Regions from separate parts of the Homo sapiens genome. Here region 2 is linked to region 1. Evidence: promoter capture Hi-C in 16 types of primary human blood cells and fetal thymus (Javierre and others, 2016). All regions are on one chromosome and are shown on one strand. Each heading gives the region's core, a stretch centred on a gene start or on the middle of the fragment in contact. The rest is flanking DNA. Distances are from core to core; before and after follow the strand shown.

Region 1 (7,284 bases), core at 2,824-5,323:
CTCCTGTGTTACCTCCATGCCCACAGCGCCTCAACCCTCACCCCATCCAAGGATCTTGGGCCATCACAAGCTTACCCCACTTGGGGAAGGTGGAGCAAGTCTTTCCTGGCACATTTTCTTTTACCTCATGCATTCTTAAAGTGGGTGCTATTGTCCCCAAAGAGACAAAAATTAGTTCTCTGGGGCAAAAAAACCCCCCTCAGCTTATAGAACAGCTTGTGACCCTCTAGAAGGCTACTGGCCATAAGCAGAAGTACAATATTATCTCTGATATTACAATTTTATTTTGGGGCAAATTAGGGGAAAAAAAAGTCTCACAAGGCTCCTAGGTGGGAGGGAGGTAGTGATCATGGCAAAAGATGGAGAAACATAGTTGTACCTTCAGCCCTAGGAGTATTCTGTGAGCATACATAGGAGACTTACAATGACTTTTACCTCCAACAATTTTTCAACTAGATTAAAAACACTATCAGTAACAAGACACTGGTGGGCACCAGACATCATCTCTGTTTTAAAAGCTTCCTGGCTTTACAATGCTGTGATGGGTTTTTGTTGTTGTTGTTGTTTCTGAGACCGAGTTTTTTTTTGCTCTTGTCGCCTAGGCTGGAGTGCAGTGGCACAATCTCAGATCATGGCAACCTCTACCTTCTGGATTCAAGTGATTCTCCTGCCTCAGCCTCCCAAGCAGCTGGGATTACAGGCACCCACCACCATGCCGGGCTAATTTTTGTATTTTTAGTAGAGAGGGGGTTTCACCATGTTGGCCAGCTGGTCTCGAACTCCTGACCTCAGGTGATCCACCCGCCTTGGCCTTCCAAAGTGCTGGGATTACAGGTGTAATTGTTTACTATCCAATGTAGAAGGCAAGACTGCCAGAAAGAAACCCTGTCCAAGCCACATGGGTCTGGGGCAGAGATGGTCTCCCCATCTGCCTGAAACCCTCACCTGAGAAGAGAATGGAGTTTGAGGACCTTCAAGAGTAGAGACTACCAGAGCCCTGCTGAGGGTCTGAAAGGTACAACACAGCCGCTACGGCATGGGAAGACCCAGGAGAATAAGGAACTGCACCTGCCTGCAGGGCCTCCTCCAGCTGTCACAAAGACAGGCAAAGGATCACATCTTCTGTCGAGCATCTGTGAAAGAATACATACACACATACAAGGGAAAGGTTTTTTTGTTTGGTTGTTTTTTTAGATGGAGTCTTGCTCCATCGCCCAGGCTGGAGTGCAGTGGCGGGACCTCGGCTCACTGCAACCTCCACATCTGGGGTTCAAGCGATTTTCCTGCCTCAGCCTCCCAAGTAGCTGGGACTACAGGTGCGTGCCACGATGCCGGGCTAATTTTTTGTATTTTTAGTAGAGACGGGGTTTCACCATGTTAGCCAGGACGGTCTCTATCTTCTGACCTCATGATCTGCCCGCCTCTGCCTCCCAAAGTGCTGGGGTTACAGGTGTGAGCCACCGCGCCCGGCCCCAGGGAAAGGTTTTAAGTCATTAAAAAAAAAAAGGAAGTTGATTCCAAGTCCATCCTTATACCATTACTTTGACCCACCATTCCCCGCTGCCCCCACCGTACAATTCTACACCAACCTGATCTCCTCATCCACAGGAATACAAGTGGGCGTTTTCACCATACAGCTATCTCTAAAGTCGTTTTACTTCTTCATATGAATTCAACACATAACTTTTGGATACCTACTCCTATATTTGCCAGGCACTGTGAGAAGTGCTAGAAATAGTAATGAATGAAGCAGACATTATCCAATTTCTCAATGAACTCTGTCTACTGGAATGCATAACCTAAATGTACAGATGTTATGATGTGATGTTATCTTAAACAAATACATAGCTTTTTGGGGCATTGAGTGCTCAAGTGAATAATCTGAAACCCTCTTTCATAAACTTTTACTCCTCAGCCTGGACAACATAGGGAAACCTGTCTCTACAAAAAATTAAAAACAAACTACCCGAGTGTGGTGGCACACACCTGTGGTCCCAGCTACTTGGGAGGCTGAGGTATGAGGACCACTTGAGCCCAAGAGGTTAAGGCTACAGTGAATCATGATCATGCCACTGCACTCCAGCCTGGGTGACACTGAGCCCCTGTCTCAAAAAAAAAAAAATAAACTTTTACTCCTTATTTACCCTAGAGTAGTGATTTTCAAATGATGGGTCACAAAACTAGCTTCTGGAGGTATGACAATAATTTTTGGAAAAATGGAATAGAAAAAAATATTGAAATGCAGCCTACATAGGTTAAGTACTGTTAAGTAATTTTTATTCCAGTTACATGTATATATCTGTGCGTTGCATCATGCTTAGAAAGTATTTGCTATTGCCAAGAAAGCATCCTTCTGCATCCATTCCAAGAGCATAACATGCAACAGATGGAAATTAGCTTGGTGTCATGGTTGTAATTCAATTACAACCTTAGAGACACCACTGGAGTTTTTGGAGGAAACAAATCACGTACCCTGATCATTCTGGCCAAGAAACACTCTCCCTGATGCAAATGACCTTTTTCTTACCTTATATTTACTAATTTTCAACAGCAGGTTTTAGGGTACATGTAAACTCTTCTGTCCTATTTCAAACATCTCACAGTTCACTCAGTTCTTTCTGTTGTTTTCTTCCCTTGTCTGTGTGTAAATATCCAACGCCCAGGCCCATATTCAAATTTTAAGAGAAAAACCTGGGACGTGGGCCTGCCAGATGGTTCACACCTGTAGCTTTGGGAGGCGAGGTGGGAGGAGCGCTTTGAGCCCAGGAATTGGAGATCACCCTAAGCAACAAGCGGAGACTGTCTCTGCGGGGAAGAAAAAAGATTAGCCAGGTGTGGTGGTGAGCGCCTGTAGTCCCAGCTACCCGCAGTGCTGAGGCAGGAGGATCACTTGAGCCCAGGAGTTCCAGGCTGCAATGAACCATGATTGTGCCACTGCACCCCAGCTTGGGCAACGAGACCCTGTCACAAACAAACAAGCAAACAACAAAAACAGAAACTGAGAAACCCAGGTTATGGCTGTGGAATATAATATGCAATACTTAGAAGGTTAAAAATTCTAGGTTTTGCCTCAGCTCCCATACCACCACCTTTGTTGCTCAATTTTCAGATAATCAGGCTCAGGCTATTATTTTTGGTTTTTCATATCATATTATCATTTTTCATATCCTATGATGTTTCATGTCCTATTGTCATTCTCATCCGGCTAGGCACTTCTCGGGGACGCTGTGTGGTGTTGAGGTTTTACAGGGAAAATGCTAACCTTGGCGCCTCCTGAATTATCAACTAGCTACGGGGTGCCCAGATTTTTCTCCCGAGTTCCAGACCCAGGGCACCCCGAGGCGGCGCCTGGCCGAGGAGCTCCGCACTGCGCCTTGTTAACAGCTGGGTCCGGGCAAACTCGCGCCACCTAATTCTCTGCCCTCTACCGGCTTGAGATGCTTATTCCTCAGGGAGGGCAAGAATCGAAACGATTGAGACCAACTATTTACAAGTGAGGCAACCGGGCTACAGGTGCCTCGAGGGAAAGGAGGCTGGGTCTGCGCTCCCACACCTTGCCGACGGCTCCACGTCCCTGTCTGCGCCCGAGGTCCACCGGTCTGTGAAGCCCACTTTCCCCGCCTCCCTCTCGCGTTGTGCCGCTTGGGGCGCCCGCTAGGACCCAAAATGCGGACTGGTGGGCCGCCCATCAAGGGTTGCCCGCGGTAGGGCGGGGGCTCCCGTGAGCTGCTCCCAAACCCCACTCGCAGGATGCTGCCCTGACGCCCAGGGCCAACCCGGGGAGCCAAGGCCCCCGGTCTCTGCAAGGCCGACCCCAGCCCGCTGGGGACCCTGCAAGCCCGCGCGTGGCTCCCAGCACGCCGGGCGTCCGCGGGGCGAGCTGCTCAGGGTCACTCGGGGTCCCTCGCCAATACAGGCCGCGCGGAGAGTGTGAGGCGAGCCCCGGGCCCGCGCCCCCACGAGCACCTACCTTCCAGGTACCCAACCCCAGGATGGGCATCTTGGCGCCGTTGTTGAGCAGGAGACGGCTTGCCATGGCTGCTGCGCTCCCCAGACCCCCGCCCAGTACGGTGCGGCCTTGGCCGCGGCGCGTACCTTTAAATAGCCCGTGAGGTCGGCAGAAAGGGCGCCTGCGGTTGGCGCGCCGCTGCGCGAAGGAGCCTTCTGATTGGTTGCGCTGGGGGTGCCGCGGCGGCCTTCCCCAAGGGTCGGCGGGGATGCTTCTTCCGCCTGGTCCTAGTGGCAGCGGATTCTTTCCGCCCCCAACGCTCGCCCGCGCCCCGCGTGGCAGAAAGGAGTTCCTCAGCTGCTGTATCTGGTGGGAAAGCGAATGCTTTAGCGAAAATAACAGGCATCCCATAAATACATAGACTAGAAATAAGTTTTGGTTTCATTAAGAGCCCAGAAGAATGCCTTTGTTGTCCAACCCCAGTTTGATGCTCTTTGGGAATCTGACGAATACCTTGTCCTTAATCTATGTGAATCATACTGACTACACATATAGTTTACCGCACTTTGTTCTTAGACAAAGGTGCATGCCAGAAAAATGGCTTGCAATCCTTTTGCAAAGCACCTTCACAAAATATGGGTTTGCCCAGACTTTTTGTAGCCTTCTAGATCTCTCTTTGCACCCCACTCTAGGTGTTAGCTGTGTCTGTGCATACTAGGTGTGGTTCAGCAAGCCTTCCACCAAAAGCCAGCATCCTTTGATGTTCTTGAGGTTAGAAAGCCTTGATGGGCTTGATCCAGAACTCTCAGAAGAATTTGGAAAGTAAGGCTGTCCATTCAGAATCAGTAAGACAAATTTCATCAGTCTTTGGAAAGTGAGACTCTATCAAAGCAGTAAGTTCCAGTACAGTAACTTATCAAAACTCTCTAGAGGAAGAAAAGTGAACAGACAGAAAACCACAGAAGAAAAAGTTGACTCTAATATTGTAGCTTCCAGTATTTCAAATTAGAAGGTACAAAATAGTAAATTGATCACCCTAATTGGCAGGTAGAAACACACATTTTTCCAAGATAGCCTAAGAAAAGTCACTTGAAGATCCTTGAAGACAATTTTGGTTTCTTTCCAACAACCTCTCTTCATGATACTCTACCTCACCCCAACTGCTCTTTCTGCTCCATCACCCTCCGATCTTTCCCCTAATTATGCAAGATTGGGAACTCCATCTGCCTGGTAGTGACTCAAGCACCAGGTCTCTCTAAACTCCATGCCGGTGATTTTCCATTTGGTGCTTTCTTTAAAAGTGCTCCCTCCTGGAAAAATTTATACAGAACAGACTAGCCCAGATATTTTTCCATGTAACTTTTGTAAAAATTGTTGCTATTGGGCAAATTCATTTGTCCCCAAGTAATAGAATTTGAACTTGAGCCTAAAGCTGGGAACTTGCTTTGTGTAAAACAGCAAGTTCCTTCCTCCATGAGAGTCCTCTTGACTTGGAGGTTGCTCTGCCAATTGAACCTCCTGGGTCCAAATCCAAAGAGCTAATCTCTTGTGAAAATGATACACCTTGAGTGGCCAGGTTGGTACACACAGAAGGGTCGTCTGTTAGGGACATGGACTCAATATCAGAGGCTTTGTTGTTGGTTTGATAATAATTGAGTATACAGCTTGATTGCATGAAGTTATAACTGTGTCTAAAGCTGGAGTGATACCTGTAGTCTCAGCTTCTCAGGAGGCTGAGGTGGGATGACTGCTTGAGCCCAGGAGTTAGAGACCAGCCTGGACAACATAGCAAGACCCTGTCTGTAAAATAAATAAATAAACCCAGAATATTTTGGCTGGGCCATGCAGACATGAAAAGTTGTATCAGTGGAATTTCTATAGCAACAATAGCACTCTAGTTGGGACATGCTATTGTGATAGCCCCCTAACATCCCCCATTGCCTCTGTAATCTTTGTAAAATGTACACATACCAAAATTTTTGATCTCAAGATTTTTGATCTCCCATCTTTTGATAAGTATACATATCAAAATTTTGTTTGAAAAAGGGAAAAAAACCTTCAATGGAATCCTCCTGAGAAACACTCTAGTAATTGGAATCTTAACATGCTCTGAACCAGTAATCTCCCATCATGGGAATTTTTCCTAAGGAAATAATTTAAAAGGAAAACACACACACACACACACACACACACACACACACACACACACACACACACTAGGTATAGGGCTGGGCTGGGACCAAGGTAAGACAAATGAGGTACACAGGTACAAATTTTCATGCCAGAAGGTAGGAGCTTTTTTACATTTATGTCCTTGGCACTTGCCTTCCCTTAGTCCCAGGCCTGCACACAGATATACACATATGCGTATGTATTTTTAAAATGCTGTATACTTAAAGTAAAACTGTAAATATCCAACAATAGCAAGAGATAAGGTGTAGCCATCAAAAGTAAAGATGACAAAGACACAGAGAAAAATGTATATGAGGTAATGTTAAGGTGAAAGTAGAAAACAAAGTCATATAGCTATGGAATGATGCTAAGAAGGAAAATACAACCTATAACATTTAGGAAATTTAGGAAGAAGACAGAAGGAAATGGGGAATACTCTTTGTCAGATTATTTCCTTAATGAACACATTTTGAATTAAAAGACAACTTCTTATGAACTGTCCAATTCCCATAGGATAAAACCTAAACTCTTGAGCCTGGCATTCAAGGCCCTGCGAGATCTGGTACAAGTTTGAATATACAAAAAAACCACCCAATTGCATATTTAAAAAGGTAAATCATATGGTACGTAAATTATACATCAATAAAGCTTCTATAAACAAACAAAGGTTATATGCTACATGTCCAACACAAGCTGGTGGAGCTGAGGGTGACAGTAGGCTCTGTTCACATTGTCACTCAGGGACTCAAGCTATGGAGGTCCCACCACATTGTTTCCCTGCTGTCCCAACCCAAGGTTTCAGGGTTTGGCTTAGGAAGGCAAAAGAGAACCTAAGAGTCTCAAATGAGCAATCAATTGCTCAGTCCTGGAAGTGGCACACATCACTTCTACCTATAATCCTTTAACCAGATCTGGTGGTAGAGCCCAGCCAGGCCTATCTTCAATGGGATGGGGAAGTGTCATCCTCCTGTATGCCAGAAAACAGAAGTGAATGGGTATGGTGAGCAACAGAAGTCTCTTCCACAACGACAAACCACTACTGAGTCTTTATTATGGTTTGGACACTGTATTATGGTTCAGCACTTGGCATATGTTATATGAAGGTGCTGCTGCTGCTGCTTATATATCTATTGAGTTATGTACATTAAATCATTTAATCTTCA
Region 2 (7,284 bases), core at 3,385-5,884, 2.9 Mb before region 1:
GCCACCAGCATCACAGGGGTCACCAGCCCCACAGAAGCCTTAACCTTCAGCAGTTGCTCCCACCAGCTCTAGCTGCTGGAGAACAAGCCCACTGGCCAGACATCCCTTCCCAGGATGCAAACTCCCCTTCCAGGGAGCCTAAAGCCAGGGCTGAAGCCGGTTCCCCTCAGTTCTACAGTCCAGAGTATCCCAAGCGACCGCTCAGCGCTGGGTGCTGGGCTGGGCCCTGGAGGTGGTGATAAGTATGTTGTTGGCCCCTCGAGGGCCTCACCGCATGGTGGAGGAGACACACAGATCATGGAACACACTTTGGTTCTCCCTAGGAAACCAGGGAAGGCATCTCAGAGATGATGCCTGAGGGTGGCTAGGAGTGGCTCTTCCCCTCCCTCCCTGCAAGGGGGGGAATTCTAACCACAGGGAGTCTAGTCCCCTTCCCCTCTCAGCTTTCCACAGGGCAGTGGTGTTAAAACCCCAGGCAGCACCCTCCTCTCCTTTCAAACATGGGTTCCTGAGGAAAACCAGATGGGGGACAGCCTCCATGCCTCTTCCCCCACCTTCTCTAGGCCTGGGGGACACCCTGAGGACCCTCCTGGGCAGGCCACGCTCCCCTCCTCAGCCCTTCTCTGGACGACCACACTCCAAAGCTCTGGCCACACTGACACCAGGTGCTTTTGGGTCTGCCCTTGAATGGCTGGGCTCCTAACCCCGCCATGTCCAGCTCGCTCCTGCCTCAGATCCTGTCCCAAGCTGCACCATGCTGGGAACACCCACATTCCCCCACCCCAGCCCTGGGCACCTTGTTTTTTTCCTTGAGTCAGGGTCTCCCTCTGTTGCCCAGGCTGGAGAGCAGTGGCGTGATCTTGGCTCACTGCAACCTCTGTCTCCCACGTTCAAGCAATTCTCCTACCTCAGTCTCCTGAGTAGCTGGGACTACAGGCGTGTGCCACTACCATGCCCAGCTAATTTTTTTGTCTTTTTAGTACAGTCTTACTAGGTTGCCCAGGCTGGTCTTGAACTCCTAGGCTCAAGTGATCCTCCCACCTTGGCCTCTCAAATTTGCTGGGATTCCAGGCGTGAGCAGCCACACCCTGCCACCGTGGAATTTTCTCTCCAGTTCTGAGAGCTAATCTCCCCAAAGCCTCAATGACTCCATCTCAAGAACCACCATCACAGACTCCCCGACCCTAATCTGCATCTCCCCTACACACTACAATTCATAGAGCCTCAGCCACATTAGGAAACACTGACCCTTTTAATTTTAAAATCCCTATGTGAAAACCCCACCTCCTTCAGGAAGCTTTCTCCAGACCTCCAGACCACCCCTTCCAAATCTTATACTCTTTTCCATATGCCTCCCTCTCCCACAGAGTGGCACTGGGGCTTCAGTTTTTATTATCATATATCCACTGATACCCACAAACATTGGCAGGATCCCAATGCCTGGGGTCCCTTAAACCCACCAGGTGCTCAATATATATGCTTACTAATCATCATAGCTATTTTTTGAGTGTTGATCCTGAGTTGGGCGTAAAGCCAAGCCCATGATATATATACTCGCTCATCTTCATAGCAACCCACAAGGTAGGGCTGTTATTACTTTATAGATGAAGAAACTGAGGTTCAGGGAGGTCCACTATTTTGTCCATGGTCATGCACATCTCTCTGACCCAAAGTCTGAGTGTTTCCACCCCACCAAGCTGCCTTTCTGTTGCCCAGAATTCATCCATTGAACATCAGATTGAGAGTACTGAATCAGCTTGTCCTTTCAGTAGCTGAGGGAACACGGAACCCCAGATATCTTATCATGGTGGAACTAGAGGTCCCTTTGGTTCTTTTATTCTATCTCACAAATAACGAAACGGAGGCACGGAGATGTGACTTACCATTGTGGTTCTGCCAGATGGTTATCAAACCAAAAAGCACTGAAAGGGGGTCTGATGAATTGTCCAACCCTTAAGGTGAATGCTTTCTTTGCTGTAGGCTGCATAATCTGCCCATATATTGGAAGGTAAGCTGGGGGAGAGGGGCAGGGATGGACCTGTCTGGGGATAATTCCTTTGTTGCAGAGACTCGAGCTATAAATCTTTCTTGCTTTGAATCAAATCACAGGATTCCAGCAGATGGGGGGCAGTGTTTATGCTATTCCCGATGACAGCAGCCCAGGCGACCACACCTTCAGAAGGACAGGGATGGAGCTGGCCTTACTGAGTCCCTAGAGGGTGGTGTAGAATGCACCATAGCTACTGAACAGACCAATCTTGCCGCAACATGCCCCCCACAAGCCTTTTCTGGCCTCAATACATGCAAATCATCATCACCATCATGATCATCATCCTCTCCCCATCCCCCACTTAGCACTTTGCACTTTTCTAAGTGCTTCCCAACAGTGCTGCATACTATAATGCATACAGTGCTCAGATAGGCCAAGTTACTTGCTGGTTAGAGCAGGCACTGGGTTATGGTCATTTTTGTTTGCCACATACCAAACTTCTGCCATGTGCCAAACCCTGTGTTAGGCCAGAAGTGGTGCTTCATGGAAGAGACATGGTTTCTGGCAGTGCCCAGGTGCCAGGAAAAACAGTGCCATCCTTGAAGCCAGCAGTGAGCTGGAGTCAGAGCTTTGCCCACTGGTGACTTATGAACATTTCCTTTTAGGGCAGACAGGGAGGGTCTTGTCCCACAGTGCCTCCCACTCCTCAAAGGAAGGGTGGCTCAGCTTCCTTAAGCTCAGAAGCACTAGGGACTAACCCCTCTTTCCTGACACAGCCCAACGCCCTTCTGGGTGGTTCTAAGAGGCTTCCCAACAAAAGGTTCGTATGAAGGCCCACCCTGAAGTCCAGCTGTCCCCAGAGTAGGGCTAAGGAGCCACCATACTCTCGTGTCATCTCAACCCTGCATGTCGTGTGGCTCTTCAGTGATTGCCACTCTGAAAGCTGTTCTGACTGTTCCTCACACTGCAGCCCCTCTTCCAGGGACACACATTCTTCCCCCCGCCGGGACCTTCCCTTTCTAGTCAGGCTGGTGGAGTCTCCCGCCGGCCACAGGAGGATGCCCACGCCTGCCTGCTCCCTGAGTGCCAGCGCCTGCCCACTACCAAAGGTTTCCTGCGGTGCAGAGGAGAGACTGTACTGCCCTTCCATCTCCCCTGGCCCCTTAGAGTCCAGTCCCAAACTGCCGGCACCTGCTCACAGCAGAATCCCTACCCTGTCTGTGCTGTCCCCGCAGTCCTCCTGGCCCTAGGGTGATCACACCACCTCAGCTCTTCCTGCAGACATGTGCTCAGGTGGGCAAAAGAGAATGAGAAATGCACCTCTCCCGTGGGGCTGAGCTGACTCTGGCTGTTCCCTAGGGGCTTAAGAACACCTGTTCTGGTTGAGTTTGCAGCCATCGCCTGTCCCCCAAAAGGGAAAGAGTAACATTTCACCTTGAAAAGAAACAGGGAGGGGATGTTTCTGAGGTGCAGGTGTTTCATGAGAGACAGGTACATTTTCTAAGGTGTGTCTAAAATGCAGCCCAATCCTATTCTACGAGAGAGAAGTTCCCGTTTGAACAAGTTCCCGTTTGAACAAGAGGATTCGAGGGGGGTCTCACCATCGTAGCCACGCACTAAGAAGCGATTGTTTTAGGGACACGGAGGTAGGACCCCCACTCAGCCAGGTGACTCTGGGACTGTGGAAGGTCCACTTACGACTCTGTACCTGCCCCAGCACGGGCTCAAGGAGTTGAGCCTGCACACATTACTTAGAAAAAACCTCTGCAAACGGGTAAGTACATCGCCCGCGTGGGCCGTGGCTGGAGGCTTGTCACCTGCTTCAGGGACTTCCTCGGGAGCCTCTCGCCTGCCTCTTTGCCTGGAATTAACGAATACACACTACAGCCCCTCATTCCCTCCAACACGAAGGAAAGGTGTAATCAGATCCCGAGAGTCCCGCAGAAGCGTGGAGCCTCGCGGTGCGGTCTCCCTTTTCTTTCCCATGCAAACCCACTTAGCACCGGCGCGCCCCTGTTTGCCCGGGCAGAATCCACCGCCCACTCCTCCCGAGTGGAGAGTGGAGACGAATCTACGCCCAGGCCCTGCACCTGCCGCGCTGCGGAGTTTGGAGGGGGCGTGGATGGTGCAAGGTCAGGGCTCCGTGTGTGACCCCGGCGGTGATAGGGCTGCTCGGGGTCGGACCACGCGGCGCGCCGGGCTTCCCTGCAGCTCGGCCGGGCAGGGGGCACATGGGCACGGTGGGAGTCCCGGCGGAACCCAGGCCGGCCACTCACCATTCTGGGAGGGCGACGGCGACGGCGACGGCGACGACGGCAGCAGCGGCGGCGTTGACAACAGTAGCAGCAGCGCCGAGAGCGCCAGCGCGCAGCGCATCGTGTCGTCGCCTCTGGGCCGGGAGCAGGTGGCTGCGGTGCCGGCGGAGGATCCGCGCGTCCGGGCGGTAGGAGCGTGGGCGCCGCCCGGGGAGGCCTGTGGGTGGCTCCGGAGGCCAGGCTGTGGCCCGGGGCTCCCGAGTCGCGCTGCGGCGGCTCTTCCTCCCTGCCGCTGCAGCAGAGCCGGGCTGGGGCGCAGAGCCAGTGGCAGAGGAGCGGCGGCGGCGGCGGCTGCGTCCTGGGCGGCGTCTGCGCGGCTGCGGCCCCACTGGCGGCTGCGGCTACTCCTGGCCCGTCCCGTCAGCGCCGGCCCCCGCCCCCGCCCCCGCCCCTCCCCCTCCCCCAGGAGCCCGCCAGCGGCGGCGGCCGGGCCGGGCGGGGCCGGGGCCGGGGCTGGGCGGGCGCTGGGCCGTGAACAATGAGCAGAGGAGGAAACTCCGCCCTGGAGCGCGACGGGCGGGAGGGCCGGCGGCCTCCGCGCCTTGGGGGGCTGTGTGTGCGCGGGGGCCAGGGCGGGGGGCTCCTGCGGTGCAGCCGGGCCCCGTCCACAGGTGTCCCGAACAGGTGTGTCCCCCCGAGTGCTTCTAAGTGGGCCCGGCGGGATCCCCCAGCACACCGCCGGGGCCCTCGCACTACGAGCAAATCCGGAGCGGGCGGACCCCCAGCCTTGCGTGGTAACTGATAACCATTCACGGCCTCCCGGGCTGCTGCGCGTTCTGCAGCGACCCCGGAGAAGCTCATCTCCCACCTGCCAAGTGCAATTCACCTGCCTGTGGGGCCCCCATCCCGCACGGCTTCTGAGCGGGGTCTCTCTGCAGCTAGGTGTGCAGCGGGCAAGCTGGACTAATTCACTCCTTCACCTCTCCAAGGGTAGGTTCCTTACCTGTGAAATGGAGATGATGGTTAAAAAACAACAGCAACAACAATTTCAGGGATGAATGTGTGCCAGGCTTTACATATATTAATTCTTTTACTCTTCATGACAACCATATTTTTAGCCTCATTTTGCAGACAGGGCAATTGAGTCAAAAAGAGGTTAAGAAACTTCCTGAGGCCACATAACGGGTAAGTGGCAAACCTGCCTCTGAGAGAAGTTTGGAGAAATACCGTGCACCGTGCCTGGAATATAGTAATTGCTCTGCAAGGAGTGGTTATTACTCTTATTCCTGCTATATAAAGAACAGCTATAAAGATTAGGGCTTTTGGGTCAAAACAGGCTGGGGCTCAAAACCTAACTGTGCCAATCTATTAATTGTAAAACCCTAGGCAAGCTATTCTCAGTACCTCATTTCTTTTTATCTGTAAAATAGGGATAATAACACCTACCTCAGGGGGTTGTTGGGAAACTTAAATGTGATCTTACAAGATAATACTTAGCCTAGGGCCAGGAACACAAAAGTCTCAATGAATGAAGTAGTTCGCCCTCCAAGTGAGGATCAGAGATATTTGCACACTGGGGGTGGGAGTGGGTGTTGGAGAATTCCGTAAACTGAGTTTATCCGGTGAAAGAACAAAGAAGTTCCTTTCCCCTCCCCCGCTCCCCTCCTTTTTTCCACCCCCAAAGCTGCCTGGGAGACGCAGACCCCAGGCCCGCCTGAAGAGGAGGCACATCGGCGGAGCCGGGAAGCGGAGGGGGCGAGGGGTGATTAACCTTGGAACCCGGGTACGGCGTAAATTTGGCTCACGTGACTCCGGGGTTGCTAATCTGGAGTCTATCTGCCAGATGGGGCTGGGTGGAGGGGTTTTCTCCAGGATCTAGCCGCGTCCCGGGCACAGGGGACTCCGTGAGCCCCTCAAGTCGGCTGCAAGCAGGCGATGCCTGCAGGGCACTGCGTCCCTGGAGCCGCGAAGGAAGCGCTGGAGCCCTGGCTGGGGTTCCGTGGCAGCCGGCCTCAAGCTTGGGAAGGGCTGACGGGGTTGTTTTCATCAGGAAGTTTCTGCAGGATCGTTCTGGCCCCGTTTTCCACACCGCATATGGGAAAGACAGAGGGTGTTCCCTATGAATACTCTGGGATATTTGTGTGTGTGACTATCTTTGATGTTTTTTTAGTACTGTTCCCCTGATATCATGTCAACAAAAGGCTTGTTTCTCTTCTGAAACCAAGCAATATATATATATATTTTTTTTTACACTGGGATTTTAAAAAATGTGTATCGCACTCTGATTTAAACAGTGTTTTTGCACTCAATCATTCAATTTATCTAAAAACTCAGAAGCAATCATGTTAACTTTATAAAGAGAGAGCGTATATTTTGAAGCTTAGGGCATTTTAAATTCACATGATTTGGGATTGGTGCCATTACAAGATCATGCAAAATTAAAATGAGAGCAGACATCTGGGCTTAGAGAAGACATAGAAAAGTTACAATTGTGCTGGACTCTCCCCAGTATCCAACAGCCCCCCTCAACTTATGCACAACGTGGCTTTCTGGAATGAGGCTGGCTGGGTTTTGAGGTCACTGGTGGCCACTGAGATGAGCTACCCCCAGGTAACTGGCCTGTGCCTTTGGCCCCATTTAGCATTGTGCTCTAACTAGCAAGCTCGCCAGCCCAGAACACCTGAGCTTATATTTGAAACCCAAAGCACTTTATGGGTGCTGTTTTTGAAGCTTTTCATCAGGAAGTTTCTGCAGGATCATTCCTTCTGGGATTTGTTGCATTTTGGTTATTTGTATACATGCGTTAGCTCTCCTAGCAGACATTCAGCTTCTTTAACATGGCGTCTTTCTTATTCATCCTTTACTTACTCAGACCACCAAGAACAGCACATCACTTTTTTTTTTTTTTTTTTTTTTTTGAGACAGAGTCTTGCTCCTGTTGCCCAGGCTGCCTCCGCCTCCCAGGTTCAAGCAATTCTCCTGCCTCAGCCTCCTAAGTAGCTAGGATTACAGGCATCTGCCACCACACCCGGCTAATTT

The links. Contacts are between HindIII fragments. The CHiCAGO score rates a contact against its expected background, and 5 or more counts as called.
Region 2: a contact is called between the fragment with the promoter of PODXL here and the fragment with the promoter of AKR1B1 in region 1, in 2 of 17 cell types (endothelial precursors and activated CD4 T cells). The highest score is 6.3, in endothelial precursors.

Annotation. Positions count from the first base shown.
Region 1 is chr7:134,455,027-134,462,310 of GRCh38, forward strand. AKR1B1 (aldo-keto reductase family 1 member B) reads right to left here and starts at 4,074. Exons shown (of 10, transcript NM_001628.4): 1 at 3,971-4,074. The coding sequence starts at 4,036. RefSeq lists a silencer at 3,684-3,873. The HindIII fragment of the contact is 6,251 bases long and covers 517-6,767 here.
Region 2 is chr7:131,551,994-131,559,277 of GRCh38, forward strand. It overlaps PODXL (podocalyxin like), which reads right to left and starts at 4,635. Exons shown (of 9, transcript NM_001018111.3): 1 at 4,267-4,635. The coding sequence starts at 4,366. RefSeq lists enhancers at 217-724, 5,023-5,570 and silencers at 4,256-4,765, 4,846-4,905, 4,936-5,055. The HindIII fragment of the contact is 4,965 bases long and covers 1,296-6,260 here.